Linked DNA regions of Homo sapiens: region 2 is linked to region 1. Evidence: promoter capture Hi-C in human tissues and cell types (Jung and others, 2019). All regions are on one chromosome and are shown on one strand. The core of a region is centred on a gene start or on the middle of the fragment in contact, and the rest is flanking DNA. Distances in the headings are between cores, read along the strand shown. Region 1 holds the start of MPP2 (MAGUK p55 scaffold protein 2). Region 2 holds the start of GPATCH8 (G-patch domain containing 8).

What was found. The method cuts DNA at HindIII sites, captures the fragments that hold promoters and counts their contacts. A contact is called where the count stands out against the background at its distance.
Region 2: the fragment with the promoter of GPATCH8 here is called in contact with the fragment with the promoter of MPP2 in region 1 in 1 of the 25 tissues and cell types used here (heart right ventricle).

Annotation. Positions count from the first base shown.
Region 1 is chr17:43,904,808-43,911,399 of GRCh38, reverse strand. It overlaps MPP2 (MAGUK p55 scaffold protein 2), which reads left to right and starts at 3,864. Exons shown (of 13, transcript NM_005374.5): 1 at 3,864-3,926. RefSeq lists an enhancer at 3,705-3,854. The HindIII fragment of the contact is 11,562 bases long and covers 1-6,592 here.
Region 2 is chr17:44,499,704-44,506,295 of GRCh38, reverse strand. GPATCH8 (G-patch domain containing 8) reads left to right here and starts at 2,890. Exons shown (of 8, transcript NM_001002909.4): 1 at 2,890-2,970. The coding sequence starts at 2,926. RefSeq lists a silencer at 2,607-2,956 and an enhancer at 3,057-3,156. The HindIII fragment of the contact is 22,919 bases long and covers 1-6,592 here.

The DNA.
Region 1 (6,592 bases), core at 2,615-5,114:
CCTGTTGAGGCGGGGACTAGGGAGGACGGCATAGCTTTTCCTTTAGAACAGTGGTTTCCAAAGTGGGTGTGCACCTAGGGGTGTGCAAGATGATCCTTTTGGGTATGGGAAGACAAAATTGGAATTTCTATTTATAGTTAAAAAATTAATCCTGGCCTGGTGCAGTGACTCACACCTGTAATCTCAGCACGTTAGGAGGCTGAGGCAAGTGGATCACTTGAGCCCAGGAGTTTAAGGCCAGCCTGGGCAACATGGCAAGACTCTATCTCTACAAAAAATTAAAAAAAAAATTCTCCAGGTGTGGTGGCATGCAGCTGTGGTCCCAGCTACTCTGGAGGCTGAGGCAGGAGGATGGCTTGAGCCTGGGAGGTCCAGCCTGCAGTGAGCTATGATCATGCTACTGCATTCCAGCCTGGGCAACAGAGTAAGACCCTGTCTCAAAATATGTTTATTTATTTATAAATAAAATGAAAATAAAAATTCATCCCTATGTGTGTGATTTCTAATATGCATACTAATTAGTTGAATAACACAAATATAGTTTATAGGCAAATATTTATATAATTTTATATAGTCCATTGAAGGCTCTAATTTTTTTTTTTTTAAATACGGAGTCTCACTCTGTCGCCCAGGCTGGAGTGCAGTGGCGCAATCATGGCTCACTGCAACCTCTGCCTCCCGGCTTCAAGCGATTCTCCTGCCTCAGCCTCCCAAGTAGCTGGGATTACAGGCGCCCGGAACCACTCCCAGCTAATTTTTGTATTTTTAGTAGAGACAGGGTTTCATCATATTGGCCAGGCTGGTCTTGAACTCCCGACCTCACATGATCTGCCCACCTCGGCCTTCCAAAGTGTTGGGATTACAGGTGTGAGCCATGGCACCTCGCCCAAGTTTTTTTTTTTTTTTTTTTTTTTTTTTTTAAGTATAGTCCATAAATAAGGTTTCCAGAACTAGGCACTGGCCAGTCGCAGGTGTGGAGGCGAAGCACCTCAGAGGCTGGGTGTAGATAAACTGGGAATAGCTGTTGGTGGCCCCTGCTGGTCATTATAGGAAGTGCACCATCACTCAGTGCAAAGCCTTACCTGCTGGAAATTTGTAACACTTTTGAGTTTTATTTTTCTCTGTGCCTTGACTCCCAAAACTCTGGGCTGAACACCACCATAGGAATACCTTGATTTTGGGGGAAGGAGATATACTACCTGCACCTTTATGACCTCTGAGGCTGAGGCAGGGAGGAAGGCAGAGCTAATTACAAACCTCAGAGAAGGAGGACTCATTCCCCTCTTGAGGTAGGGGGCAGCCCTTAACTACTAGGGGATGCATTGCCGACCTTCAAACCTGCTTCCCTTCCCAGCTACTCCATTGCCAACCATTAGCAGCTCTATTCCTTTGGGGAACAGCTTAGGACACACTGCACCTTTATTATGGCATTCAGCTGTGCTACCAAGAAGCGCTTTTTGTATCTATGTAACACACTCCTTTCCGACTTCAACCCCAGACTGTGAACTCTAGGAGGTTAGGGCCCTTATCTCAGTATCACAGTAAGTGGTACCTTGCCTGGCACAGAAGAGGAGCATCCTATTCTGCATCAATAAATGTTTCTTCTCATTCTGTAACTGCACAAGGCTGTTGTGAGAATGAAACAATTTGTCAATTGTAAGGTCCTGAACAGATGTGAGAGGCTGGCATTCTGCAAGGCCTTTATTAGAGAGATACTTGTTGACCGACGAATGCAGTGGGGCAGCCGCTAAGAATAATGAGTTGGGCTCCACCTCCCCAGGTGGGCCAGAATCTGAGATCCCAGACTGTCCTGAGGATCCTAAATGGAATGGAAGATTTGATGTGGGTCGCTATGGAGGTAATAATTGCTTGATTAAGAAGTAATTAATATCTTGTAGAGATTCAAGATCCTTCCTCTTCCAAAATACAAATAGCTGAGTGATTTCCAGCCCAGAGGTGGACAGGTGACAGTGGAGGGTAGCCTTTATAATGGAAAGGGGAACTCTTCCTGAATTCAATTATAAGGATTTTCTAGGCCGGGTGCAGTGGCTCATGCCTGCAATCCCAGCACTTTGGGAGGCTGAGGTGGGCAGATCACCTGAGGTCAGGAGTTCGAGACCAGCCTGACCAACATGGAGAAACCCTGTCTCTACTAAAAATACAAAATTAGCCAGGCATGGTGGCGCATACCTGTAATCCCAGCTACTCGGGAAGCTGAGGCAGGAGAATTGCTTGAACCCGGGAGGCAGAGGTTGCGACGAGCCGAGATCATGCCATTGCACCCCAGCCTGGGCAACAAGAGCGAAACTCCGTCTCAAAAAATAAAAATAAAAAAGAAGAAGAAGAAGAAGGATTTTCTAGCTTGCAGATAGAGGAAAGAGCTGCAAGCAATGCGCTCCAAGAACCCTCTTTGTTTAGAGACCAAAGCCTGCAATTCCTGTCAAAGCTATCTGGGTTCGATGGCTTTCTTCTCTCAGTAAAAGCCTGGGTCACCTAAACAATGTGGTTTTCAGCAGTTCGGCCGCCTCTGTGGCTTTTTCCTATATCCAAACTTATACCCTTGGAACTCAGGGGAGAGCTGAGTCTTGGAACCCAGGGACCAGTCCCCTGCTTTCGGGATAGATTCCCATTTCTGAGATTTCCAAGCAAGTTTCCAGAATGTAATCCATTTCTTTTCTTTTTGTTTCTTTTGAGACAGGGTCTCACTCTGTTGCCCAGGCTGGAGTGCGGTGTTGCAATCTCGGCTCACTGCAGCCTCAGCTTCCCAAGTAGCTGGGACTACAGGCGCGCGCTACCACGCCCAGCTAATTTTGTTTATTTTATTTTTTGTAGCGATGGGGTTTCACTATGTTGCTTGGGCTAGTCTCGAACTCCTAGGCTCAACCGATGCTCCCGCCTCCGACTCCCAAAGTGTTGGGATTATGGGAGTGAGCCACCGCGCCCGGCCAAAGATGCAGTCCATTTATGATCTTAGGAATCCAGTTAGCAAGGAAAAGGGATGACTCTCACATTTTGTTCAGGGCAACTGGACGGGGTGGCTGAACGCCGAGGTCGGAGAAGTAGCGTAGCTGGCCCCAAATGCTAGTCGCACTGCACAGAGCCTCCCGTATTTGGAGGCCCAGCATCTTTTACTAGCAGATGTGGGGTGGAGCCGGAGGCTGGGCGAAGGCGGGCCAGTGGGTTTAACCCTTTATTTACTTTTTGGGCTGGGACTCTGAGGAAGGCTAGCCAGTTACTTCTTTATTCCATAGGCAGGAAAATGGACCAGGCCTCCCTCACCTAGACCTAAAAGAGGCTCTCGAATCCTTTCAGGAAGACATTTCCTCTTTTTTGCAAAATTTCTGGAAAGTCTGGAATCCGGATATCCACCCTCTGAGTCCTTAAAAAGCTGCCCCTGATCCCGAGGCCTTCTGGGGCTGGTATCCTGCTTCCTGGGAGTCTCTCTGAAGTCCTCCTATTCTTTTTCTCAATATGGAAGCAGGATAACGAGGAAAAGTGAGGCACGCCTGGAACTAGAACGCCGGTCTAAGCCAAGATGGGTGGGCGGAGTAATCAAGCCGGTCTCATTAGGCACTTTTACCATCGCCCCTTTAAGGGATCCTTGGGAGCCGAGGGGCACCAGCGGGTACTGGTACCAGTCCTGCCTCCCTAACCCTTCCCAGTGGGACTCCAGCAGGGCGTCGTGGTCTGTGCGGTGTCTCCCAAACCACTACCTGGCTGCCCCCGTACCAGCTGCTGGGAAAGACTACTTCCTCCGAGTTGTGCCGGCCTCCGCGTTCTCCTCACCTCCCCTCTCCTCCGGACCTCCGCCCCCTCGCGGAGAGGCCTTGCCGCTTTAAGAGCCGGGCTAGCGATTGACAAGCAATAAACGCTGAGCGCCCGGCTGCGCTGGAGCCGCCCGGAGCTAGGGGCTTCCCGGGGCGCAGGTAGGCGTCCCCCGGCCCCCGGGCCAGCTCCTATCCCAAGACCTCCGCCTTCTTTTCGTCCTGACACGGCACTTAGGACCCTATTCACTGGGTTTAAACTCCACAGGCCCCTTTCACCCAGGCCCGTTCCCTCCCTGTCCACCCGCCCCCGCCCCTGGGCCCTCTTTCTGGGGTGCTGGTTGGGAGAACCAAGCCCCGCTGCCCATTGACACTGGTCCCCGCCCCTGCGGTAGGGGCTCCAAAGTGGCTTCAGGCACCAAGGTGGTGAGCTGTGAGGGGCCCCGGTATCTGCGCGGCCTCCCCGGGGGCTGTGCGGGTTGGGGGTACTTAGAAGCCCGGCATTACGTAAGAACCGTGCTGTTAGCGCTTCCGGGGGTTGGGGAGCGAGACAGAGGTTGCGCTGGGTCCCGGTGGCCCCCTGGTCCCCCTAGGCAGCTAACACCACAATCTTCCCTGGGAGGGGGTCCGCAGAAGGGCGCGCGCTGCTTCTCCCGCTTCCCAAGCTGTAGCGGGGCGGGTCGGGAGCCAGGGTTAGGGTCTGGAGACTTGGGAGGGGACCGGTGCCAGAAGCGAAGAGCTAGGGTTAGAAAGTTAGGTCAATTAAGGGGGGGGCGGTGCGGATAAAGACGGGGTGGGGGTTGGCCGGGGCAGTCATTTAGTGACCTCATCCCTGGTCTCCGGCGGGCGCGCACGTAGAGAGCCTTCTTTGATGGCTCACAACACGCCCCCCTCCCCCAGGTCCTAGCGCCCAGGGTGTTAGGGCTGGGTCCGTTGGGGCAGGGGTGATCTGATGGTCCAAGCATGCACGTCCGCCTGGCCTTTCGACCCCATCCTCTGGCCCTCAGTTCTGTCCAGACCTCCCCGCGACCTCTCGCTCTCCAAAGCGCCTTTGTCAGACCTTTCTTCTCCGCACCTCTTTGTATGTGTATGGATGGAGGGATGGGTGGGAGGTTGGAAGAAACCTCTCCCTTTCACTGCTGGTCCGCTCGCCTGCGGACACTATGGGTGATGTGGATATCTCGGAGGCAGAGCTGAGAGGGCATCTGGGCCCAGGCTTTTGGAAGCCGAGGTGCAGGTTCCCAGATGTCTGGGTGCAGGACCTTGGCACGGAGCCAGGCTAGCTTGCCTGGCACTGCCGTTCTCCTGTGGACACAGCCAGGCCCCGCCCTCTCAGAGGCTTGGACGGGCGTGGGGGAGCAAAGCCAGCCGATGCTCTGGGAACCGATTCCCCGGGAGAAAACCCAGGCAGGCTGGGCAAGACTTCCGAGCGCAGGGATTTCATACAGGATCCTCCCTGCCTTTTCCCGCCCTCCACGCTCTAGGGAAGGAGGACTTCTGGAGTCCCTTCTCTGACCCTGTGAGGGAGAGCAGCGCCAGCCAGGAGAAGGCTCCAGGTCATCAAGGCCTGGGAGGGGGAGGGAAGGGATCCCTCCTCCCTGCTCTCTAGGAGTAGAGATTGGCACCAGGGGCACGGGCCAGCACAGTGGATCCTGGGCATTTCTTCCAGCCTGGGTGTAGCCTGAATAGGGGTGCCCTTCCTCTCCCTGAAAGCACCTTTATTCCATGTCCTCAGCGGCAGAGCTGGGAGGAAAGGGAACCATCCCCCTCACTTTTGTAATTTCTGTCACCTGAGCTCAGGTGACCAGCTCAGGCCTGAGAAGGGAATGGGAGCAGAGAGGGTTTTATTGAAATCAGGTACTAGTCCTCTGGGAAGAATCCTCTTTTGGGGGGAGGTGGAGTTGCCGTGGTTCCCCCACCCCCAGGACTCAGCAGGCATTCAGTCCTAAAGTGGGCACTGCCAGATGCTTCCCCCCACTCCCCACCCCTGCTGTGAGCCACTGCCTCCTGTTGTCATGGCAACTGGGAATTAGGGTTTTATCCAGCAGCACATGCCCAGGAAGGCAAAGGGAAGAAGGGTGGGGGGTAACCCCCTGCCCTCTCCTGGGAGAACGAGGGAGCCACTCCTAGCCTGGGGAGGCCCTGGAATGGAAACTGGGGCTGTAGACTCCATGCTTGGTTCTGCCCAGAGCACTTGGTCTCCTTGTGCCAGCTCTGAGCTAAGAAAGGGAGAGAGGAGAGAGAGCCAGCCAGAGGGGCCGTGGAGAGGTAGATATCACTCTGTCAGCCCCCCAGATAAATGTGGAACATCGGCGCTTTGGTAGGCCTAGGTTCCAGAAGCAAATAAAATCAATGTGGTTCTGACTCTCAGGGAACCTGCAGTCTAGGAGTACTCATGTTTTCTACTTTGGCTCAAATTCTGGACTCTTTTATTATTTTTTAAATGACTTTTTTTTTTTAAGACAGGTTCTTGCTCTGTTGCCCAGGCTGGAGTGCAGTGGCGCAATCATGGCTTACCGTAGCCTCGACCTCCTGGGCTCAAGAGATCCCCCTGCCTCAGCCCCACAAGTAGCTGGGATCATAGGCATGCACCACCACACCTGGATAATTTTTAATTTTTTTGTAGAGATGGGGGTCTCGCCATGTTGCCCAGGTGGGTCTCAAACTCCTGGGCTCAGGTGATTCTCCTGCCTCAGCCTCCTAAAGTGCTGGGATTATAGGCGTGAGCCACCTTGCTCAGCCAAATTATAGTCTTACCCTCTAAAAATTCTACTTGTTTCCTCTTCAAAAAACAAACAAACAAAAAATACAACAGGAAGAAACACTTT
Region 2 (6,592 bases), core at 1,641-4,140, 600 kb before region 1:
CATGAGCCACCGCGCCGGCCAAAAGTTCTTTCTTAAACTCAATATCCTTTTTTCTTTTTTGGCATCCCATGCCCCTTGATGCAGTCTCTTATTTCCTGATGTGTTCCCTTGTACCCTGATGTGATATAATGTCTCCGTGGATGTTGATAATTCTTTTGATGGTTTCTTCTGTTCCTTTCATTATCTCTGGTTCCTCTGAATTCGTTTTTTGGGGGAGGGGGGCTGTTGCTGTCATCATAGCTCACTGCAGCCTCCAAATCCTGGGCTTCAGCAATCCTCTTGCCTCAGCCTCCCAAGTAGCTGGGACCACAGGTGCATGCCACCACGCCTAGTTTTAAAGTTCTTTTGCAGAGTTGGGGTCTTACTACAATGCCCAGGCTGGGGGTGTTTCTATCTTTCCTGTTACAGGTTCCCTTCAAATGTCTGGCATTCTTTGGCTATCCATTCATAACAAGGCACTAAAAAGCTGAGTGAAAGGTCTGTGTGGATGGGGCTTCCTGAATGATGGACTTCTCTGTGGAGTATTTGGGCAGGAACATGATCTTTATGTAGGAAGACACCTCCCTACCCTCACTCCCATTGTTGGTACATGAAGCATTTTCTTCCCTAAGCTAGTCAATTTTCTAGAGAGGGTTCCTATGTTCTTTTGTTGGAGAAGTCAGACTCTCTGGCCAGAATGGAGGCTTTACCATATCCTCCCATTTTCAGCATGGTTGCTCCTTCTCACCTATAAAGTCCAGTCTCTCTGGTTCAGCCTTTCCAGAGGGAAAACCTCTAGTTTGCTACCTGGGTGGGAAAAGAGACATCGAATCATCAGTGGCACCAGGGGCTTCTACTTCCTGAGCCTTTCTGGTGCACTTTAGCATTGATCAACTTCTTTCCTGTCTTCTCCTACTCTATGACTTCTTTTTCTCCACTCTACTAAAGTCATTTCCATTTATCTGTGCTCTCTGGCCTCCAAAATGTTGACATCTGTTGTCTGCCATTGTCTCTTCTCCAGGTCTCTTTGTCCATGTGAATTTATGCACTTCTTATTCCTCTGCTGTCATTTCAGTGGGCTTTTGAGAGGAAGAAGAGGTCAGTGTGATGTGTATCCTCGTGATTCAATCTTTCACGCTACCCTTAAGTCTCTTTACAATGTTTGAGCCAGGCTCGGTGGCTCACGCCTGTAATCTCAGCACTTTGGGAGGCTGAGGCGGGCGGATCACAAGGTCAGGAGTTCCAGACCAGCCTTGCCAACATGGTGAACCCCGCCTCCACTAAAAATACAAAAAAAAAAAAAAAAAAAAAAGTCCGGGCGAGGTGGCTCACGCCTGTAATTCCAGCATTTTGGGAGGCCGAGGCAGGCGGATCACGAGGTCAGGAGATCGAGACCAGCCTGGCTAACACGGTGAAACCCCGTCTCTACTAAAAATACAAAAAATTAGCCGGGCTTGGTGGCGGGCGCCTGTAGTCCCAGCTACTCGGGAGGCTGAGGCAGGAGAATGGCGTGAACCCGGAAGGCGGAGCTTGCAGTGAGCCGAGATCGCGCCACTGCACTCCAGCCTGGGCGACAGAGTGAGACTCCTTTTCAAAAAAAAAAAAAAACAAATGAGCTGGGCTTAGTGGTGGGCGCCTGTAATCCCAGCTACTAGGGTGGCTGAGGCAGGAGAATCTCTTGAACCTGGGAGGCGGAGGTTGCAGTGAGCCGAGATTGCGCCACTGTACTCCGGCGACAGTGCGAGACTCCGTCTCAAAAAAAAAAAAAAAAAAAGAATACAATGTTTGAATTCTGTGTGCCCTGCCTCCCCTTAGATGGAAGCGTAGGCTGAAGCATGGGTGGGGCAAAGGGTAACAGCTAGAAAATACACACCCTTCCTCAAAAAATTACATTCCATTTGACTCTTTCAGGGCAGGGTAAGACCCATTTTTCCATTGTGTGATTTCTGTCAACTACTCTTTTCAAAAGGAGAGAAGTCCTGCCACCCTTCTATGTGTTTTATGTATTTTGGCTAAGAGTCCTGGAGCACTGGGTGAGGTCCTCAGAAGGGATGGAAAAATCCGATTCTTGACTCTCATAGTCAGCGCTAGGCAGGAGCATCAGAGATTACTGAATCCAATTTCCCTATTGTATAAAAAGGAAACTGAAGCCCAGAGAGCTTTAGTCGATCTGGATCAACTTCGGTCCCTTGTGAAATACTTCTCTCAAAGGATGGCTCGAAGTCAAGCTCCTTGCAGTCTTTGGGCCTTTGGGTCTAACGTTCCCTATGCCCCAATGCTGTAGGCTCCTCGCTGTGCCTCGGTCAAAGGTCCTTTCAGAGACTGTCCCTCTCAGCACTGTGGCCAGTTTTACTTTTTTGTGGCACTTGTTGATATTTAAAAATATTTATTTTACGAGTTATGTGAGTTCTTCCACTGGAATGAAATCCCCATAAGAGGAGATCATTCCTGTCTCGTTCACCGTTGAATCCTCAGGGTGAGCTGAGATTCGAAGCTAAGCAGTCTGGCTCTAAGGTCGCGCTTTCGGCCCAACATTATGCTGCTATTTAGTGAAGACGATGGACTTCTGCGCACACGGGGAAGCAACAGTGAGAAAAGACACCCGGAAGTGAGCAACAGCAAAACATCCAGATTTGTCCGCACGGTGCCCCCTCTGACCTTTCCCTCCGGAAGCTCTCGCGGCTCTCGGGCGGGAGTGCGCACGCGCGGCCACCGGGGTCGCTCCGGGTCGCGCGCGGAGCAGGGGCTAGAGGGAAGGGTCAGCCTCCAGGGCTGGCAGGCGCCTGCGCCGCGGGGCTCCCGTCAGGACGCGCATTCTCGCTCCCTCCCTCGGCTGCGCGCGCCCGGTGGGCGTGGGAGGAGGCGGGGAACCGGGGAGGGGTGGGTGTCGCAGGAGGGAAGGAGCGAACCGGAGAGCGTCGTCCTGAGAGGAGTGAAGGCGGCAAAATGGCGGACCGCTTCTCCCGCTTCAACGAAGACCGAGACTTTCAGGTAAACACGGGCGTCGCCGAGGATGCGGGGAAGGCGCTGGTCTAGCCCAGAACCTCCTTCATCTCCGGCTCCCAGCCCTCTTTCCTTCCAGTTTTGCTCCGACTTGCGAACCAGCTCGCTCTTCTCCCGTCTCTGCTTTCTCAAGAGGCCTCCCGGCTTGAGGGAGGCCGCATCTCCTCGCACCCGCATTCTCTTACCCCTGAAACTCAGGCCGCGGGGCTTGCGGCTTCCGCCTGTTTGGCATCGGATTTCGGAACCGGGCCTGAGCGCCGTGTGAGGGGCTGTGCCCTCCAGGTCTGCCCGATCTGTGCCGGCGAAGGGCTGGCTCCCAGGGGACAAGAGGGGTGGTTGGGTTGGGCTGAGAGGGCTTGGGGGAGAGTATTGCTGAGGCCAAGGCTTCCGAACCCCGGGATTTTGCTCTCACGGATCCTTTTGGGGTCCTTCTCTTTTCTTTCTTCACTGTGATAAATCAATTCCTTTCATTGTCTGCTTTTCCTCTTCCTTACCTGGGAAAAGGTTGCCTTCGCTATCAGACGCCTTATTGGTTAGTCATACATTGAGATTTCGCGGGGCATAAGTGTTGCTGTTATTAGGCTGTTAATTGGGCTTGGAAAGCAGTAAGTTACTGGACTATGATCCGATGTGAGCCTAACCTCAAATCCTATCTCGAAAGATTTGTGAGAAGCGTGATGATAATAGGCCGTCCACGCATGGGGTCACTAGTGCCAAAAGCTTGATTTTTCTTTCTTCAATTGCAAATGTTAGTATGGAAAAATGCCCTTACGATGGCAAGCTCTATTGAGTAAAAAATAAAGGCCAAATTAGAATAACTTGTTTTTTCGCTGTTGAAAATACCTTTCTGTTGAAATTGTTACCGCGGAAATCTCGAAGACTAAAAGGGATTTAGTAGAGATTGGCTATTTCTAGGTAAAATACATCCGTAGAGTCTCAAAAAAAAAAAAAAAACACTGCATTACTACCGCATATCCTGGCAACTGCAATTTGGGTCGGGATGAATCTCAGAACTCAAGTTTTTATCCCGCTGCAGATCCTACTCAAAGCAGTACGAAAGCACTCTAGATGTGTTTCAGAAGGCAGTTTAAAGAGTTTGAATTCCCTGAGATGATAGGATTGGTAAATAAATAGGTAAAGCAGTTTAACAATTTTAACTCAGCACTGTTAACAGTCTAGTACATAGAACGCTTATGAGAAGTTTTGCAGCAGTAAGGGATCTGGGGGCTGTTAAAAAGCCTTGTGATCATGCGCCTGCTGTATAGCTGCAGCACAATACAGGAGAGTCTCAGGATGTTCTAAGGATATAATGCAGATTCACCAAAGTTTGAAGCAGTTCATGTTAGCCTTTTGATCCCTGAGAAATATATATATATACACACATATATATATATTAGCAAGCACTATAAAATATGAGTTGGCTGCAAGGTGTATGAGCTTTATTGATTTTTAAATTACCGGTAGAGACATACTGATAACTAAAGCCCGCAAATGCTTTTCAGAGGAGAGAATAATCTCAAGGTGACCTAATAAAATCGAAAATAGATAATATGGACAGTTAAGTTTTGAGGGAAGATGACTGTCAACCACAGAATTCCAGCAGGCTTAGCAAACAGGATTTTCAGGGCCTTTAATGAAGATTTTGAAAATTGTGGATAGCAGAGTGTGAATGCTGTTTCCTGAAAAACATTCAGGGGGTTAGCCTGTACTTTTTCAATACTCAGTTTCCAAGTAAGATGACCCTGTCTTCTGATGCTTTAGTTGGGTATTGCAAAACCCGATTTTGGTTTCATGGTAGTCCTTTGAAGATGATACGTATACTTCATTTTCTGCTTATATGTTGAAAGAACCAACCCCTGTTAAATTGGGTCAGCCAGGAAAAATTTTTTTTTTTTTTGAAATGGAGTCTCGCTGTGTCGCCCAGGCTGGAGTGCAGTGGCACGATCTCGGCTCACTGCAACCTCTGCCTCCCGGGTTCAAGCAATTCTTCTGCCTCAGCCTCCCAAGCAGCTGGGATTACAGGCACCCGCCACCATACCCGGCTAATTTTTGTATTTTTAGTAGAGATGGGGTTTCACCGTATTGGCCAGGCTGGTCTCGAACTCCTGACTCGTGATCCGCCTGCCTCGGCCTCCCAAAGTGCTAGGATTACAGGTGTGAGCCATCGCGCCTGGCCGAAAATGTTGGTTTTTAAAATTCAGATGTCCTAGCATTTTGGGTAAATAGGGTATTGGGAATGGAAACCTTTTTAGACAGTTGTAAGATGTTAAAACTTTTATAAATTATGTTAACATTTCTAAAGTACATTCATTGAAAAATAAAGTGGTATTTTTCTAGATGTTTTAATAAAGGGAAAATACAGATTGACTTTCATTTAATGATGTATTTTGATTCAAAATTATTGGTGAGAGAATGTAATGTAATAGGATTCTCCTGTGAATAATGTATCTGAAACATTTTCAGCTTCAGGTTATTCAAAATTAAACGTGGCCTCCTTTTAAGGTTTTGGGTGAAGCCACTGACTATACTTGAAAACAAGTCATAGTAGGTTTCCAAACACAGTGGATAGATCTTGTTGCTTTCAACAGATCTTGTAGCACTGGAAATTGTTCATCTTCTCTGGTAAGTTCGAGATGACTTATTTTCTTTGCCTTTAATTTAGCAGGATGATTTAAAGTTGTAGAACTTCACTCTTTACCGGTTTATCAAGTGCAAATTTTGGAGAGTTTGATGTCTCTTGAAATTATTATGGAGTGAGGGAGTTGGGCTATTAAAATTTGTGAATACCTAAAGTTGCGAAGGTATTTTGTATATATAGTGAAAAGTTATAGTTAACAGTGGTATGCCACTTGAAGCACTCATGTATATAGAGATTAATAATTATCAGGGACCTAACTTTTTTTAATTGGTAACTTTATTATAATAACAAACAGGTCCTATTCCACAGGCTTTATGTGTCTTATCTCATAGTCTTCACTATAACCCTACGAGGTAGGTACTGTTATTACTGCCGTTTTCAGCTGAGGCACAGAGAATTAAGTAACTTAGCCAATTACATACATCTGTTAAATGGCAGAGCCTAAATTCATACTGGCTTTTGGATTCTTGTACTTGTCCTCATGACCATTCTGTCTGCTGCTGACAATTATACATTTTATGTAGCTGTAATTGGGTCATCAAATGTGGAGGATAGACTTATAGGTGACAAAGAATAAGGGAGCTTTTAGAAAGGTGATACAGTTCCAGTTTTTATTTTGTTTGGTTTTGTCCAGATCTGTCTCTTTCTGGTCTCCCAACGGCTTCTAGGGAGGCTTTCAACAATGATAAATTACATTGTGTCATAGAGGATATATTGTTACCTGTTTTAGTTTAGACATTCTTTTGTCTAGCCTTTTAAGTGTTTTTTTTTTTTTTAATCTTTGGAAATCTTTGTAATCTAAGCTGATGTATTTATTTTTACAAATGTTTTAAGAGTTTTAACTACTCCTTTAAGAATCTGGCCTCAATTTCTGAATGAGATATTACTTCTGCCAGCATTTACCAGATTAAGATATATTTGTTCCCAAATTGAAGTGTTACACAAACTAATGGAAAATGTATAACTTAAGAT